Regions from separate parts of the Homo sapiens genome. Here region 1 is linked to region 2. Evidence: promoter capture Hi-C in 16 types of primary human blood cells and fetal thymus (Javierre and others, 2016). All regions are on one chromosome and are shown on one strand. Each heading gives the region's core, a stretch centred on a gene start or on the middle of the fragment in contact. The rest is flanking DNA. Distances are from core to core; before and after follow the strand shown.

Region 1 (4,456 bases), core at 927-3,426, 350 kb after region 2:
CTTCCAGAAGGTTTTCCAGGAGAATGCACATCAGTGTATACACAAAGCAGCCCAAAGTATTTGAATAACACATGGCCCTCTAAACACCATAGATAAAGCTTAGTTGTTGGAGAAGAAAGAGCTTAGTTGAAATAGACACATGTGGACTTTTTAGTTGAAATAGACACATGTCTGAGGAGAGATGAGTTTGTAGCAGGATGCAAACATACAGTATTATACACTCACACATTCAGCTTGTTTTATTATAATTACTACTTTTTTTAGAGACAGGGTCTTGCTATGTTGCCCAGGCCAGAGTTTAGTGGCTATTCCCAGGCACGATCATGGAGCACTACAGCCTTGAACTCCTGGTCTCAAGTAATCCTCCTGCCTCAGCCTTCTGAGTAACTGAGACTACAGGCACGTGCCACCATGCTCATCTTCAGCTTGTTGTTGTTGTTGTTGTTGTTGTTGTTGTTTGTTTGTTTCTTTTGATAAAGTCTCGCTCCGTCACCTGGCTGGAGTGTAGTGGCACTATCTCAGCTCACTGCAAACTCCAACTCCCTGGTTCAAGCAATTCTCCTGCCTCAGTGTCCCAAGTAGCTGGGATTACAGGCATGCGCCACCACGCCCAGCTAATTTTTGTATTTTTACTAGAGACGGGTTTTCACCATGTTGGCCAGGATGGTCTGTATCTCCTGACCTCATGATCCACCCACCTTGGCCTCCCAAAGTGCTAGGATTACAGGCGTGAGCTTCAGCTTGTTTTGTATTTTTTCTTTTCTGCATTTAGGAAGGTCATTTGGCTCATCTCCAGTAAAGGGCAACCTTCTGCGGATAAAAGGAATATCTCTTCTTCCCTCCAGGAAGCAGAGATAGGCAATTGAGTTTTGCCAATGCCAGGCAGCTTCCCTGACCTCCAGGTAAGAGAAACTTGTTTTCTGTTCCTACTGATTTAGGCTCCAGTTTTTTTGTTTTTTGTTTTTTTTGTTTTTTGTTTTGTTTTGTTTTGTTTTTTGAGGAGAGGGGAAGGAGCAGGAAAGGGAAGGGGAGAGACAAAGGGCTCCAGCTTTAATAAGCCATTAAGGCTCTTCCTGGTGAGCCCTAAGGGCTATTGCTAGTACTAGTGAAAGAGAGAAGTGGGCCAATGGGGACAGTGGCAAACCAGAGAGTACAAGGCTGGTTTAAAGGGGGCAAGCACCACTCAGAGGCAATGGATATTTGCCAACTGAGATTTGAGCCCCTGTTGTTAGACCTTAAAATCTAAAAAAGAAAAGAAAAGAGGCCAGGCATGGTGGCTCACGCCTGTAATCCCAGCACTTTGGGAGGCCAAAGTGGGTGTATCACGAGATCAGGAGATCAGGACCATCCTGGCTAACACGGTGAAACCCCGTCTCTACTAAAAATACAAAAAATTAGCCAGGTGTGGTGGCTGTCAGGCCTCTGAGCCCAAGCCAAGCCATCGCATCCCCTGTGACTTGCATGTATACATCCAGATGGCCTGAAGTAACTGAAGATCCACAAAAGAAGTAAAAAGAGCCTTAACTGATGACATTCCACCATTGTGATTTGTTTCTTCCCCACCCTAACTGATCAATGTACTTTGTAATCTCCCCCACCCTTAAGAAGGTACTTTGTAATCTCCCCCACCCTTAAGAAGGTTCTTTGTAATTCTCCCCACCCTTGAGAATGTACTTTGTGAGATCCACCCCTGCCCGCAAAACATTGCTCTTACCTTCACCGCCTATCCCAAAACCTATAAGAACTAATGATAATCCACCACCCTTTGCTGACTCTCTTTTCGGACTCAGCCCGCCTGCACCCAGGTGAAATAAACAGCCATGTTGCTCACACAAAGCCTGTTTGGTGGTCTCTTCACACCGACGCGCATGAAAGTGGCACGTGCCTGTAGTCCCAGCCACTCAGGAGGCTGAGGCAGGAGAATCGCTTGAAGCCAGGAGACGGAGGTTGCAGTGAGCCAAGATTTCGCCAGCACACTCCAGCCGACTGTCTCAAAAAAAAAAAAAAAAAAAAAAAAAGGAAAAAGAAAGAAGTCAAAATCCCAGCTTTTTTTTTAATAGGAAACCTCCTGATCTTTAAATGTTGTCAACCAACTGAAATTTTAAAAAAAACCATGTCAGTCAAACAAAATTTCCTCAGCACCTATTTGCTGCTGGTGTATGATTTCTGGATTGTTATGAGGGAAAAGAAGACACTAGGGCTTTTAGTGCCGATGGTAAATGAGGTTAGCAGCAGGCAGACAGGCAGGACAGACTAGGAGGTGGGGAAAAGCTGGGAGCCAGAGCCCCAAATGTGGTCCTTGAGTGGGAGTCATCCCTGCTCAGGAGGGGCTTGGTGAGTGGGAGTGGGCTCCAAAAGAGGCACGCTGAGAGAAGCAGCATTTGTAGTCATGAGCCGTGTTGGATCAGAATCCTTGCTGGCTAGCCACCCAGTCTTCAGTGGGTGAGAGTAACAACAACAACTAACATTTATTGGACACTTACATAGTGCCAGGTATTCTTCTGAAAGTTTTACATATATTACTTAATTTAATCATCACAATATCCCTGGGCGGGGGTGGGGGGGCAGGGGTTGATATTACCCTTATCTCCATGTAACTTCATCTCACTGGCACCCTATGCTTACCCCAGTTGACTTTACCAAGCAGGAGCTCTGACAAAGCATGCCACAAGCCAACTCACCACTGTGGGCAGAATGCACAGTTGGTGGCTAACATGAATTTCATGCAGCAACCCCACCCTGACACTAGGAAACCTGGGACTCCTGGCAGTGTTTCATAGAGGAGCTCCTGAACCTCTTCTTTGGAGCAAGGAACTGAGCATGTTAATATGCCAGAGTTGGGGCAGTGGAAGCAGCTATACTATTACAATTCGATCACCTGTCACCTTAGGAACCAATAGCCAGAACCCTGGGTGAGTGACCTACAGGACAGGTCAATTCGATGGGAGGGAGGGCAAGGGCTATCTATGCCCTGGAAAGCTACTTCATAAAAGACATATCAGAAAGGGATTTGGGGGGCTGGAGAAGAGCATGAAGATACTGGAGACACAGAGCATAGAGGAGTGGAAAGGTAGACAAGGAGGAAGCAAAGACAAAGTTGGCCTGCATATAACTTTTCTGAGGGTCAATCTTGTATAGAGGTTATTAGCCTGGCTGGGAAAGAACCACAGAAGGAAGTGGGGTTAGGAAATTCAATCAGTCCAAATGTTGGACTAGGGCCCCTGGTCTCTTTGAACATTTTTTTCCATTTCCTTGCATAACCATAGCCACAGAAGCAGAGGAGGAGATTGTGAATCTGGCCTAAGGTCTTGGTTTATCATTATCTAAATATATATTTAACAAAAACCAAACAGGGCTTTTTAAAGCTCTGAGTCATGTTGTTTCTGCTATTTTTTTTTTTTTAGGGAAATGAGCTTGTTGCTTCATCAAATGATGGGTTATTTATTGATGGAAAAAACTAACCAGGAGGACCGTTTCCCCATACTGTTTAGTAACTTTACACATACTCGGAAGTCTTATTTACATATCAGCTGAGGACTAGCAGTTACTAAATAACAGGAAATTCCGAAAATGTTTTAGTAACTGTAAGGTATCAAGGCTTTTCAGGTAGAGATGGCTTCATGTCCAATTTGTAATAGTAAAGCTGAAGTTGATGGAGTTTCCTCTCTCAACTACTGAATATGAATACTTGGTACCCACTAGTTAGTTGGTCATTCAACAACATTTACTGGGCACTCACTGTTGCCCTCACTGTGCCTAATAACAACAGCGACTATTTATGGAGAACTTATCATCTGCCAGACACTGGGTTAAGTAAATTATATCATTTAATCCTGATAACCTTCATACTTGGATAGAATTACTACCTTCATTTTACAGATAAGGAAACGGGAGTTGGAGACATTAAGTAACTTGCTCGGGGTCAGAGTTCAAGCCAGGTCTCTCTGCTTTCAAAACCTGTGTCCTAAACTATAATAACAACAACCACGACAATGACAACTGACTTTTATTAGATGCTCAATGTGTGCCAAACAAACGCATAGTGTTGTGTATGCATCGTCTCATTTCATCCTTATAATGACTCTATGAGTTCATCACTATTAGTATTATTAGCCCTATTTTGCATATGAGGAAAATGAGACTCCAAAAGGTAAAGTAATCTGCCCAGGGACACACAGGTGGTAAATGAAAGAACTGCAATTCAAAATAGCTCCATCTGACACCAGAGGCCAACTCAAAGGGTTACCTACTCCAGGAAGCTTTCTGTAAACCCTCTAAACTGTTTTAGGTGTCCATGCACAAGGTTCACATTGCACCTTGCCTCCTCTATCAAACATGTTATTAACATTACAAGGGGATTTCAAAACGTGAAAAATGGAATTAAAGATAAAAGTAAAAAAAATATAAACTTTATTTCTCAACATGAGTTCCATCAAGGTGAAGACATTTTTGTAAG
Region 2 (4,080 bases), core at 356-2,855:
GCCCCTCAGATCAAAGTGATTAACTGTCCATTCTAGGTGTAAGGCTGGCATTTTTGTGTTATAATCCAGGTAACTCCTAAGCACAATGCCCACCCCAAATTCTAAAAAGTTAGATTTTTTATACCATTTCTAAAATTCATACAACACGGGTCCCTCCTCAGGCCACATGCCACAAAGTGTCCCTTGGCATTCACTCTCAGTTTTTGTTGCTCTTTTCCCTTTGTTAACTGCAAGATAAACATTTCCCAAGCTGAAGGTCTGCCCTTACATTTTTTCTGGTACCGATGTGATGCATTTGGTGATATTTCTAACTCTGTTAGGACTCCCTGGACAACCAGAAAGTTTTATGTTGCTGTAGGATTTAGTCTTGATCCCCCAACTCAAGATTTTACAGAAGGAAACTTATTCTTTAAAAAAGAAAAAAGAAAAAAAGAAGGGAAGGAAGGAAGGAAGGGAGGAAGAGAGAAGGAAGGAAAAGAGGAAGGGGGAGGAAGGGAGAGGGAAGGAGGGAAGAAGAGAAAGAAGGAAGGAAAGAAGGGGAGGGAGGAATGAAGGGAGAGAAGAAGGAAGGAAGGAAGGAAGGAAGGAAGGAAGGAAGGAAGGAAGGAAGGAAGGAAGGAAGGAAGGGAGGGAGGGAGGGAAAGAAAGGGGCAAGATAGGGGGAGGATGCCCTAAACCTCCACCTGCTGATTTTGGTTTAAGGAAAAAAATTAGCTCACTAAAGTCTTTCCTGGGGTTAATGGGAAATGTGGATATAACTAAAACAAAGTTTGAAGGTATGAAATTTTGGAAATAGAATACTACTGGCCCACAGTTGTTCTGGGGCCATTGCCTAGGTTACTCAGGTGTGAACACCTGCATGGGATCAGACTTCCATGGAAAGCGGCTAGAGCATAGGGATGCATAATTTCATTTCAGGTAGTTTTTACAATCTGATGGGAAGCCTGGCTTCACACAGAAAACCACCGTTCGTTAAACATGTACAAAGAAAGACTATGACAAATAGCTCTGAGGGAAATGGCTCCTCATACCAGCTTGTCAAGCCGAGGACTTCTATGAAAGATTGATTTGTCTTTCTAATTACAGCCTGAATCAAGTTAACAGCTTGTATAAGACAACATCAGGAAGCAATAAAAAAAGAATCATGAGAGAAACTAAACGAAAGCTTGGATGAGAGCCTTTGAGCTCAAATCTTGACTTAAAGTATCTCGAAGGCTCTCTTTAACCCTTCTTTCCTTCTTTCCTTCATTCTTTAAATTTTTTTTTTTACTACATATTGCAGTAAAACTAATGTATCTCAATCAGCGTCTCAGCTCCCAGGTGGGCTGTGTCTTTTTTCCCCCCATTACAATCTTTCTTATAAACAAGAGCTGTCAACTACTCACCAAGTAATTCACCGCTCAAATGTCTTCAGTTTACTGCCTGCGCATGCAGACCACTGGCATAGCTACCTCAGTGTGTCCATTTCTTTGCATCCTCTATGCATTCACAATCCTGTCAAGGACTCCAGTCTGTTGACAAATTCCATTAATGGGGTAAATAATTGAAAGCGTTAGTAAATGTTTTGAAAATCACTCTTCAGCATCCGCAGACCAAGACTTGGATTAGGATTTAGAGTGACACTTCTAATCCTTTAAATTGATCCCACCTGTAGCAGAGTTAGTGCTGACCTAAATGCAATGACCCAGAGATTAACAAACAAATAGAGTCCTCTGGATAAATACGTCCTCCACAGACTACTGCCTTCTTTTACCTTTCAAAGTCAGACACAAACTCTCAGATTTTGCCTCTGTGTTCTTCCTTGTTCCATTCTGTCTAATAACCACCAATCGCCCTTTCTCCAGGACAGTTCTAAATGCCAAAACATTCATCAGCTGTGATTCCAGCCCAGAATATAAAAGGTGATCCAGGCTGGCTCCCTGCAAAATTCAAAGCAGGTGAATTTTGTCTCCTTCTCCTATTCCCCTTAAGTGCCTTCACTGCCTTTCCTCCCAAGAGAGACTCCCTACTTCCCTCTACACCTTTGTACAGAGACATTGTTTCCCCATACTTTAGATGTATTCCTTTTCCTTAAGAAGTCCCTCTCTGTCCTGGGCATCATTCACTCAGGGCCCTGTTCTGGATTCCCAACGTGAGAACTGAGGTGTTAAGGGCTAAAAATGACTTATATTAAATGAGAAATGTTTTTTAATAATAGTTTTATTGAGATATAATTTATCTACCACAAAAGTATATAATTTAGGGTTTTTTTAAAGTATATTCACAAGCTTGTGCAACATTTTCATTATTCCCACAAAGAAATTCCATTCTTGTTTAAAAGTCACTCCCCATTTCTCTCCTCCTCCTAGCCCCAGGCCACCACTAATTTACTTTCTCTATGGATTTTCCTATTCTGAACATTTCATATAAATGGAATCATACAACATGTGATCTTTTGCGAGTGGCTTCTTTGTTTGAATGAAAGAAGGACATGGATGAAATTGGAAATCATCATTCTCAGTAAACTATCGCAAGAACAAAAAACCAAACACACTTTGTTTGAAAAACAAACCGTTTTCAAGGTTCATGCACGTTCTAGCCTGTACCAGTACTTCATTTCTTTTGTGGCCAAATAATATTCCACTTTTTTGGGTATACCACATGATCAGTTGATGGAAATTTAGGTTGTTTCCACCTTGGGCTATTATGAATACTGCTTTTATTACTTTTGTGTAAAAGTTTTTATATGGACATATTGTTTTTATTTCTCTTTGGCATATACCCAGGGAATTGCTGGGTCATATAATAACTCTATGTTTAACATTTTTTGAATTGGCAAACTGTTTTCCAAAGTATATGCACCATTTGGCATTCCCACCAGCAACATATGAGGGTTCTTTTTTGCCTACATTCTTACCAACACTTGTTACTATCTATCAGTTTTTTATTTAAGTATGACAGGCATTTTATATGTACATTATACTTATATGTACATCTTTATGTTCACAACAACCATGAAGGTGGATATTACCCATTCTTTCCATTTTGTAAATGAGGATGCCAAGACTGAGATAAATTAGGCAATAATCATACTTACTGAGTGCCAATGATGTGACAGGCATTTTTGGAAGCCCTGTCTCCTTAGATCTTCACAGTGACCCCACGAGATAGATACTATTTGAATTCCCAGACATCCAGAGAGGTTACAGTAACTTACCAAAAATCACACAGCCACTGGTCAGTAGAGACAGAATTTGAACTCAGACACTCTAATTCTAGTAAGTAATAGAGCCAGAAAATTTAAACGCAAGACTATTTGGCTCCAAGAAAGCTCACGTTTATCCTTGATATATTCCACTAATGCACCCTTGTGCTATCCCTCCAAAGACTGCTTGCACTCTAATAGAGTCTCCAGAAACACACCGTGACTACCCAAAGGAAACAATCCCTAATTGTAGAATTTCAGGTGACCTGATGGAAATACTGGTGCAAGTGAGGGCCCCAGTTAGCATTCTCTATGTAGTGCTGCATGGTGCCATGAGCAACCCCAGTATGGATTTTATGAGAAGGTTCTGATGAGGACTAGGATGTTCAAGGGACCATCATTCAAGGAATGTTCCAAAATCCTGAATAGACATAAGATTCTAAATTTATAGGTAGAAGTAGCTGGGAATTAGCACATAAATAAAATTTCTAAAGTGAATTTGCTTCTTTTGATTAAGAGTTCCACAAACACTTGTTGCTCTACGGACTTTACATATACTAGCTCAATGGATCATCACAACTGTCCTATGGGGTAGGTATTATTATCATCCACATTTTATAGATGAAAAACTGAGGCACAAAGAGATTAAGTAATTTGCCCAAGCGCATACAGCTAGTTTCTGGTGGAGCCATCTGTGAAAATAAGTACTCTAGCTTTAGAGTCAGGACTCTTAACCACTGCCTCTTAATCACAGTATGGGGGTCATTGGATTTATCCATACACTCAAGAATTCCCATTAGATCTCTAAGTTTTAGTTATAGTATAATTAAAGATGATTTTAGAACAGAAATCTAAAACCATTTGGGGTCCTCATGAATCTAAAATTATACAGATAC

What was found. Contacts are between HindIII fragments. The CHiCAGO score rates a contact against its expected background, and 5 or more counts as called.
Region 1: a fragment that was not itself captured here is called in contact with the fragment with the promoter of GUCY2F in region 2 in 1 of 17 cell types (neutrophils); the score reaches 6.4 in neutrophils.

Annotation. Positions count from the first base shown.
Region 1 is chrX:109,827,631-109,832,086 of GRCh38, forward strand. No RefSeq gene overlaps it. Among named protein-coding and RNA genes, the nearest start is that of ACSL4, 97 kb to the left of the region's middle. The HindIII fragment of the contact is 4,161 bases long and covers 97-4,257 here.
Region 2 is chrX:109,480,481-109,484,560 of GRCh38, forward strand. GUCY2F (guanylate cyclase 2F, retinal) reads right to left here and starts at 1,606. Exons shown (of 20, transcript NM_001522.3): 1 at 1,386-1,606. The HindIII fragment of the contact is 1,102 bases long and covers 1,164-2,265 here.